Regions from separate parts of the Homo sapiens genome. Here regions 1 and 2 are each linked to region 3. Evidence: promoter capture Hi-C in human tissues and cell types (Jung and others, 2019). All regions are on one chromosome and are shown on one strand. The core of a region is centred on a gene start or on the middle of the fragment in contact, and the rest is flanking DNA. Distances in the headings are between cores, read along the strand shown.

The links. Contacts are between HindIII fragments. The study calls those that stand out against the background at their distance.
Region 1: a fragment that was not itself captured here is called in contact with the fragment with the promoter of PPP6C in region 3 in 3 of the 25 tissues and cell types used here (IMR-90 fibroblasts, dorsolateral prefrontal cortex and mesenchymal stem cells).
Region 2: a fragment that was not itself captured here is called in contact with the fragment with the promoter of PPP6C in region 3 in 2 of the 25 tissues and cell types used here (IMR-90 fibroblasts and dorsolateral prefrontal cortex).

What each region holds. Positions count from the first base shown.
Region 1 is chr9:125,026,804-125,030,281 of GRCh38, forward strand. SCAI (suppressor of cancer cell invasion) reads right to left here. Exons shown (of 18, transcript NM_001144877.3): 4 at 2,841-2,936; 5 at 1,589-1,675; 6 at 9-107. Among named protein-coding and RNA genes, the nearest start is that of GOLGA1, 87 kb to the left of the region's middle. The HindIII fragment of the contact is 7,974 bases long and covers 1-3,478 here.
Region 2 is chr9:125,056,584-125,059,786 of GRCh38, forward strand. All of the region lies in intron 2 of SCAI (suppressor of cancer cell invasion), which reads right to left. Among named protein-coding and RNA genes, the nearest start is that of SCAI, 85 kb to the right of the region's middle. The HindIII fragment of the contact is 7,319 bases long and covers 1-3,203 here.
Region 3 is chr9:125,188,107-125,191,476 of GRCh38, forward strand. It overlaps PPP6C (protein phosphatase 6 catalytic subunit), which reads right to left and starts at 1,697. Exons shown (of 7, transcript NM_002721.5): 1 at 1,538-1,697. The coding sequence starts at 1,612. RefSeq lists enhancers at 1,019-1,805, 1,806-2,592, 1,895-1,974. The HindIII fragment of the contact is 9,567 bases long and covers 1-3,370 here.

The sequences.
Region 1 (3,478 bases), core at 650-3,149, 160 kb before region 3:
ATACATACCTGTCCTCTTTATTGACTTGAGAATAATATGATCTCTGTCTGATTGCAGAATAGAAGGAAAAAGCCTCATTCAGATAGCTGGTTTCCGATGTGCGTAAGCTATGAGAAAAAATATATTTTTAAATATGACAGTGTCAGAGACTCTTCACCATGGTAAATACTTGTTCTATATACCGCTGTATTCCTCTGTGGCACGGGGTGCGGGGGTGGGAATGACTGTCCTAAATTTGAATCGGCAAGACAATAATCATATCACCCTTAAAATGTATAAAAAATAATAATGAAATTTTTTTAAAAACCTCCTCGCTGCATCCAAGCCTTTTTTGATGCCAACCCATATTACACATTATCCTCATTCTTTGAAGGGACTCTCCAAACAGCATTCCATCCAGTGAAATCCTCTCCCAGGACTAGGCCACTTCCTCAAATCCATACAGTCCTTTGGCCCATTTCTTTAATTTCTGTCCTCACAGAACTGAGGAATGCACTAATCCATACGAATCTTCAGGGGATGTTAATGAATTATGTTTTACAAGGGACTTTTTAAGAAAACATTTCTACCTGAGAAAACACTTCTAGTTTTACAAGGGACTTTTTAAGAAAATATTCTACCCAAGAGAGTGATTTTAGTGGTGGGAATTTGGAGCGGTATGCCAAAATGTAGGAAATGGAAGAAGTTTTATTGCCTTTTCTTTTCTTTTCTTTTTTCTAATTTTTTATTTTTTGAGACAGAGTTTCACTCTTGTTGCCCAGGCTGGAGTGCCAATGGCATGATCTCGGCTCACTGCAACCTCTGCCTCCCAGGTTCAAGCAATTTTCCTCCCTCAGCCTCCCAAGTAGCTGGGATTACAGGCACCTGCCACCACACTTGGCTAATTTTTTTGTCTTTTTAGTAGAGACGGGGTTTCACTAGGCTGGTCTCAAACTCCTGACCTCAGGTGATCCACCTGCCTTGGCCTCCCAAAGTCCTAGGATTACAGGCGTGAGCCACCACGCCCAGCCATTTTATTGCCTTTTAGATTACAAATGGTCCAAGCCTTTTTTATTGTATACCTGATTATCACTTCAGGATGATGACATTTAGATTCCTAAAAGGACCCTTCTTGTTTTCTGAACTCAGGGATGGGACTATATAGATGTTAGTGCTCTAAGGATATAATAAAAAATATCTTTCAAACATATCCTGCAAGTATGAGTTTTTTAAAGTATCCTTCTGAAAACCATTCATTCACATATACAAGTTATAATACAATGCTACACATTATTAAGACAAGTGAAGCTGCAAGAACAATAAATCCTTTAGTATTAATCGTTTATCTAAAACCAAGATCAAATTTTTAAGTTATAAATGAGTCTGACCAAATGAAGTGTTTGGGAGGCAAGCCTTTAAAACAAATAGTACTTTGACTATGGAAGGTTATTGCACAACATTGTCTTGATCAATCTGGTCCGAACTACTAGAGTTTCATTTGTAACTCGTGATTTTCATGCCTAGCAATGAGTATACTATGTATGTATACTTCTGCATGCTGTGTTTTAATCAGACAACACTTTACTCTTTCCATGTGTAATTTACTTACTAATAATGATAGTATAGCTGCCCAATCTTGGAAGCAATTTCTCCTATTTGCCAGCGCTTCAAGCCATACCGATTATCCAAGACTTGTCTGTTTTATATAGGATACAAGAAAATAGAAATGAGTCTATAAATTCCAAAACTAATCAAATCTGTAAATTCAATAGGATAAAATACCATCCAATTCAGCAAAGCTAATGAATTTTTCATTAGATTTCAATGTAGTCATTCCATTAAATTTAAAAAGCATTTATTAAATGTCTATTTATAAGTTGAAATATAAAAAGAAACTACTTTGGCCAATAAACATATATTTTAGAATGAAACCATAAATCATCCTACCTATGCTCTAGCTGATCTGAACCATTCCACATATAATATTGTCTTTAAAAATCGGACAAGAACATTACTCTTTTTTTTCCTTTTTTGAGACAGAGTGTGGCTCTGTTGCCCAGGCTGGAGTACAGTGGCATGATCTGGGCTCACTGCAACCTCCGCCTCTCAGGTTCCAGCAATTCTGCTGCCTCAGTCTCCTGAATAGCTGGGATTACAGGTGTGCACCACCATGCCCGACTAATTTTTATATTTTTAGTAGAGACAGGGTTTCACCATGTTAGCCAGGCTGGTCTTGAACTCCTAACCTCAAGTTATCCACCCACCTCAGACTCCTAAAGTGCTGGGATTACAGACAGGAGCCACTGCACCCAGCCTTATTTTATTATTTATTTTTATTTATTTATTTACTTTTTTGAGACAGGGTCTCTCTCTGTTGCCCAAGCTGGAATGCAGTGATGCAATCTCTGCTCACTGCAACCTCCCCCACTTCAGGGTTCAAGCGATTCTCGTGCCACAGCCTCCTAAGTAGCTGGGATTACAGCTGAGCACCACCACACCTGGCTAATTTTTGTGTATTTTGTAGAGATAGGGTTTAGCCATGCTGCCAAGGCTGGTCTCAAACTCCTGAGCTCAAGCAATCCTCCCACCTTGGCCTCCCAAAGTGCTGGGATTACAGGCATGAGCCACCATGCCTGGCCATACATTTTAAGATCTTAAATAAATAGGAAAGAAATAAATTTGTTTTCATTTGGGTTATAAAGATGAAATATGTTATTTTAAAAGCACCAAGATTTACCTTTGCTTTGTTGGTGAAAAAAAAGAAAAAGCACCAAGACAAAAAGCACTGAAGTAGTGAAGATAAAAACTGTGACTAATACAAAACAGGCCTTCACTCTCCTTTAACTATAAAATTCATTTACCGATGCTGCTGCTGGAACTTCCAGAGTTTGGTGTAAACATCAAAAGTTCTTCCAAAATAGGACTGCCACTGCTTCTGTCCATATTGTGGCAAATCTCTGTAATAGTAAATGAGTATGTATTAATATTAAACTTCTTATTCTATTTGGAAATTATGTCTTGTGATGGTACAAACCAGACAGATGAAAAATGCTTGCATTCAGGCTTTCTTTTTTAAAAAAGTTACACTTTTTGGAGCAGAAATAATTCTATAACTAGGGTCCAGGACATGCTCTTTTCCTATTCTCCTCCCTACTTCTCTGACAGGTCGTTCTTAGTGTTCTTTGCAGATGCTTCTCCCATGAGGTTTCTGGTCCTCTCTTCCCTCTCCCTCGGTGATCTTATTCACACTCACTTATATACTGACAACTTCCAAATGTTTATCTTCAGCTAAGAACTCAGCTGAATGTTTGAAAAACACTGCTTTAGAAAATATACCTAGAAATCGATATGTAGATGGTATTACTGTTCTGCACTATTCTATCCTCTCCCTATAAGATAAATATACATCCCTGTCCTTGAACCTGGTGACTTATAGTACAGTCTTTGAGAGGCAAATACTCCCTACCATACAAACATTGGGCCTGGCCGTATTAACTTC
Region 2 (3,203 bases), core at 436-2,935, 130 kb before region 3:
AATGCCTGTTATGTTCTAGGCATTCCTCTACATGGTTAACAATCTAAAAATATTGATTTATTTGTCCATTTGATCCACTCTATAAATCCTTCTGGAAAATGATCCCACAAATGGGAAAACACTTTATCCGTGTATTTATTTTAGTATCATAACATTTAAAAATTGAAAACAACCTAAAGGCCCCAAAGACTAAAATGGTTAGGAATACTGACCACTGCACTCTACCCAATCACTAACTTACAACTCTGTTTAAGAAGGTGAGGCAATGGTATGAGTACACTTCAGTATAAAAGGGATATAAAATCACACACACACATATACATACACACACACGTACACACACAGACGTATATTAAAACTATATTGAAACTATCTCCACTTGTAATAAATTTCATAAAGCTGCCATGTAAAAACAGAAAACAACAGTAAGTTGTCAGACAGTATGTACAATACAAACCTAAATTTTAAAAACTGATTTGTGTTTACACACAGACAGAAATTCCTGGAACAACAGGAAAATTTGGTCCTGGTGTAGGATGTAAAAATAGGCAGACAAAATATAGTCACTGAAATAATGTGATACAATTGGTGAAATAATGAATTTTAATAGATGGACTGAAGAACAGAAAGGATACAGTTGAACAAATAAATAAGCTAAAATATCAGATTTGGGGTACTCTGCCAAAAGACAGTAGAAAGAGATTAAATATATAAAAGAAAAAGCAAGAGATAAGATAGAGAAATGAGGGAAATCAACTGCCACACAATAGCTTACACAGGAGGAGAGAAAAACACAAATGAGAGTGAAGAAATATTTGCAGAAATAATGACTAAATTTCCCAGAATTAGAGAAAATGTAACACCTAAAATTGAAAGGACTCAAAGAATGTCAAAATAATCCCACAGCTAGAACCATTAAAGTAAAACTTAGGAAATCAGAATTCTCTTCCCTTCCTGAAAAATTCACTCTTATAGCCACCAAGTGGGTATCCACATCACAGGGTACCTGCATGGTTGTCGGAATATAAGCTACGTGAGGAGGCCATTCGCAGGCAGAGCCAGCTTGCACAGGATGTTGAAGGCCGAGTGTGGAGGAGGAGGAGGGCACCCATGAGGGTGGAGGACTGGCAGGGAAAGTAGGAGCCTGAGCACCTCCACATAGAAGGGTTCAAAGCAGCAATGGGAGATTTGCTATATAAAGAGGGAAGGATCAAATAAGATCTATTAAGGGCAGATGCAGTGGCTCACGCCTGTAATCCCAGCACTTTGGGAGGCAGAAGCAGGAGGATCACTTGAGGCTAGGAGTTTGAGACCTGCCTGGGCAATACAGTGAGATCTTGTCTCTACAAAAAATGTAAAAATTAGCCAGATGTGGTGGCAGGTGCCTACTCAGCTACCTCAGATACTCAGGAGGCTGAGGCAGGAGAGTCGACTGAGGCCAGCAGTTCAAGGGTGCAGAGAGCTATGATCCCTCCACTGCACTTCAGCCTGAGTGACAGAATGAGACCCCATTTCTTTAAAAAAAAAAAATTCTTTTTTAAAAAAGATTTATTAAAGGCAATGGGACCCAGAGTTCTCACTTGGCAGAGAAGGGAGATGCAAATATGGAAATGGAAGAAGTTAGAATGAACTCTGTGGATTGAAACTGGGCCAGGTACAGTGGCTCATGCCTGTAATCCCAGCACTCTGGGAGGCCAAGGTGGGTGGATCATTTGAGGTCAGGAGTTTGAGACCAGCCTGGGCAACATGGTGAAACCCATCTCCACCAAAAAATACAAAAATTAGCCCAGCATGGTGGGGTGTGCCTGCAGTCCCCAGCTACTAGGAAGGCTGAGGCAGGAGAATCACGTGAACCCGGGAGGCGGAGGTTGAGGTGAGCTGAGATCATGCCACTGTACTTCAGCCTGGGCGACAGAACGAGACTGCGTTTCAAAAAAAATAAACTGTAAGTATGAGTGAACTCATGGATTTCTGAAGACATGGACATACATGCATGGTGTGTGTGTCTACATAAGCACACACAGATGCATACTCCCTAGCTCTGTAATTCTATCTACTGAGAGCGCCTTGGAGCAGTGATCATCTTCCCTCCCCAGTGGTATGAACGTTTCTAGCACCTAACACTTGGCCCCTAATACCATTCTCCAATAAAAGGAACCAGACATCTCTGGAGAATTGTAATTCACTAATTACAGCACAGGGGTAGAAAAAGTACAGGATCAATCTGGAATATCTTGTGGTAGTAAGCAAGAAAGTGCTCAAGGAATGCTAAAGAATGTCAAAAAGACATAGGATCAAGCTTGAAGGAGATCCCACTGGCCAAACAGGGTAATTTCAGCATCAATACCAATAGTAATAGCAATGGATTATAACCTACTGAACAAAATAAGAAATCATGAATCAATATAGATATAAATAAATGAGTGAATAAATGGAAAGTGTGGTAGTGAATGGGATAGTTTCAGAATACTTCCCCCATAAACTACACATTACTTCCAAGGGAAAAAGTAATTTCACAGCAGTAAAATCCAGCAGACACTGCCTTGATCAAATGATCAAAGTGAACATCATTAGTAATCAGACAAATCAAAGTCCCATGCGATGAGAAGTACTGTTCCTGTCAAAGTTCTGTAGCCTGAGTCTAATCATGAGGAAACAGACAAAACCAAGTTGGGGGACATTCTACAAAATAACCAACCTGTAATCTTCAAAAATGTCAAGTACTTTCCTTCAAAGACAAGGGAAAACTGAGGTATAATGCCTGATTCTCCCCTGGATCCTTCTGCTGTAAAGGATGTTATTGAGACAACTGGTAAGGCCTGAATGGGGTCTAAGGACTAGACAGGAGTAAATTTCAATGTTAATAAGAAAAATGTTCAACCACCAATGATGAATTGGTGAACAAAATACAAACACAGTAAAATACAGTAACAAAATACAAACCTAATGCAGCAAAATGAGCACATTAAAACTACACTAATTATAGCAGTTGAACATGCACTGAAACCAGCATAGTTGCTAGAGGCAGTGTAAATTAGTTCAAACCCATAAGTTTCCCTGAATGTATGAGGGGACATTAAATGGTCATTCTATGAGATCTATCAATTACACTGCAGAAAATTTATCCTGAGGTTAACTGTCATTACTGGTAAATTACTCATAACACAAGAACTGGTGAAGAATCACTAGCATCTGACATTCTT
Region 3 (3,370 bases), core at 447-2,946:
TGGGCACGGTGGCTTACGCCTGTAATCCCAGCACTTTGGGAGGCCGAGGCGGGCGGATCACGAGTTCAGGAGATCGAGACCATCCTGGCTAACACGGTGAAACCCCGTCTCTACTAAAAATACAAAAAATTAGCCAGGCGTGGTGGCGGGCACCTGTAGTCCCAGCTACTCGGGAGACTGAGGCAGGAGAATGGCGTGAACCCGGGAGGCGGAGGTTGCAGTGAGCCGAGATGGTGCCACCGCACTCCGGCCTGGGCGACAGAGCGAGACTCCGTCTCAAAAAAAAAGAATACACTGAGTCGGTTAAATACTAGCACGAGCTGATAAGCACTGCTAGAAACCTAAGCTCTGATTTCAGCAAATGCATAGAAACACTTTTCAAAGAAGCAGTATACCTAGGCCGGCGCGGTGGCTCACGCCTGTAATACCAGCACTTTGGTAGGCCGAAGCGGGCGGATCACTTGAGGTCAGGAGTTCAAGACCAGCCTGGCCAACATGGCGAAACCCCGTCTCTACTAAAAATACAAAACAGCCGGGCGTCGTGACGGGCGCCTGTAATTCCACCTAGTCGGGAGGCTGAGGCAGGAGAATCGCTTGAACCCGGGAAGTGGAGGTTGCAGTGAGCCAAGATCGCACCGCTGCACTCCAGCCTGGGTGACAGAGTGAGACTCTATCTCAGTTAAAAACAATAATAATAATAATAATAATAATAATTAAAAAGTTTTAAAAAAGAAAAGCAGTATACCAAAGTCATTCCTTTACCCATACATACATTTACTCTTACTTGGACTCAGGAGTAACAAGGAACTCACCTCCTTTAGAAAACGAAGAAAATGAAATACTGAGTTAAGAAGGGGTTAAGGAGAAAGTATTTGTATTTATTGAGAACCAACTACTTTATCCACTTCAGTAAGCTCAACAACATACTCAGAAACGGGATTCACCTCTGAATTAGCAAAACCGACGATCCTAAAAAGCAATTTGGAGGAGTGGCAATGAAGAGGGACGACCTGACGTTCGCTCCCGCCAGTACCAAACCACTCGGGCCCACCGCCTTCCCCTTCCTCAGAGACCTAAACACACTGAGGCCGCGTTCCGGTAGCCGGTGGCATCTCCTGTCAGACGCCGGCCACTCCGCGCTCCTGTCACCTCCGGTGGAGGCGACCCCATCCCGAGGGCACTGCCGCGGGGGCTCGGCTCCGACTGCGGGAGACCCAGGGATGGGGTGGGGAGCCGAGCCTTCTAAATAAAGCTGTTACAGCTGCGGGTCCTGGGGCAGCCCGAAGGCCAGAAGGGGCGACCCTGGGACAGAGGCCGCGACATCCCTCGGGATCCCCACTGAGGCAACCGGGACAGCATTCGACGACTCGGCTCGCGAGACCCTCGGCGTGACGCCGGGTAGGACCGGGTCGACTGGCAATGGGGGAGGCCCTCCACCGCGACTGGACTGGATACCCGGCGGGGGTCCTGGAGAAAGGAAGGGCCGGCCGGCGGGCGCCCCACAGCCGGAAGGGGCGAGCCCGCAAATAGGGCTCACCTTCAGGTCGTTCTCTGGCAGGTACTTGCACAGCCGCGCTATTTCCACATACTTGTCCAGGTCTAGCGGCGCCATTTTAAGAATAACAAGCCGCGGCAACAGCGGCGGCGGCGGCTGTAGCAGCGGCGGCGGCAGCGGCGGAGGCCGAAGCCGGAACTTTCCCTGCGTCACGTCCGGCCCGTGAGTGGCGCCTGCGCAGCGCCGTTAAAGCGCGACCCGTTTCTCCCCGCTACGTCGGTACGCCCGGCGCCCCCTCTGGCTGAACCCCGACTGCAGGCCCCAAGAGAGCCCGCTTCGGTCCACCCCGCGAAACCTGCTGGGACCCGTAGTCGTCTGCCGCGGGGGTGCTGGGATGTGTAGTTTTCTGTTGTGGACAGCCACCCCTCTCTTTTCCTCCCGTTCCTCCAGACTTTCACCTCCCGGCAGCCGGCGAGGCTTTTCCGAGGCAAAACAGCGGAGTAGGTGGTCCTAGCCACTCACTGGTTTGTTTTTCCAACCCTTTTAAGCACTCTCCAGAATATCTTCACTTAACAATTGGGTAAGCCTGGCCGTAGTAACCGTTTGCACCTTTCCAAGTCCCTGTGAAAACCTCGCCTAAGCCTGTGGCAGAGATGTCAGGCCCCAGTCTTCCAGCCTGAAAGGAAGGGAAACGAATATTATTAAAGCATTTCTGATGCTAAATGCGATACAAATGATATTTTTCCTTTTAATCTTCGTAACGATTGATAGGAAAGTGAGGCTAGGAAACTGCAGTTCACCCCAAATCTCACAGGGAACAAAATGGTGGGGTCAAGATTGAAAAATGGCTTAAGCTTAAGCATGCTTCCAGTGAGAATCCCACGAGGGCAGGGAGTTTTTTGCTGTAACTCCAGCACCGAGAACAGTACCTGGTACTAGCATACCTTCAGCGTTCGTTTATCCAACCACTCTTTGCTGAGCAACAAAGATGTGCCAGGTACAGCTCAAGGCGCTTGCAGTACTTCGTGAACAAAATAGACAAAGATCTCTATTCTATCTGTAGCTACAAAAAGTACCAAAATTAGCCTGGCGCGGTAGTGCGTGCTTGTGGTCCCAGCTACTCTGGAGGCTGAGGCAGGAGAACCGCTTGAGTTGGGAGGCGGAGGTTGCAGTGAGCTGAGATCGCGGCACTGCACTCCAGCTTGGGCGACAGAGCGAGATCCTCCTCAAAAATAAATTAGTAAAAGGAGCTGCTGTATGGGACTAGGGGTGGGGGTGCAATGCCTATAGCTAAGAGACCAGTTAAGAGACTGTTATGTAATCCAATAGTAGCAGGCGCTCAATAAATATTTGTTGCTCAAGAGACCCTGGAATTAATCCTCTTGCTCTCTAAAGTATATTTTGTGGACAATTGGCTAACCCTGAATGAGATATCTGGGTGAACTTCTTTGTATTATTCTTGTAACTCCTCTGAAAGTATGAAATTGTTTCAAAGTAAAATTAATTTTTAGAAGTTTGTTGCAGAATGAATGATGCCCACAAGCATTCATTTCTTCATTCATTAAACTAATAGTTACATAGTGCCTATTGGCCAGGCCGCGGTGGCTAATGCCTGTAATCTCAGCACTTTGGGAGGCCAAGGCAGGCAGATCACCTGACGTCAGGAGTTCAAGACCAGCCTGGCCAACATGCCGAAACCCCATCTCTACTAAAAATACAAAATACTGGGGAGGCTGAGGCAGGAGGATCACTTGAATTGCTTGAGGCAGAGGTTGCAGTGAGCTGAGATGGCGCCACTGTACTCCAGCCTGGGCCACAGAGTGAAACTCCATCTCAAAGAGAAAAGAAACCAGAGGTTACACAGTGCTTATGATG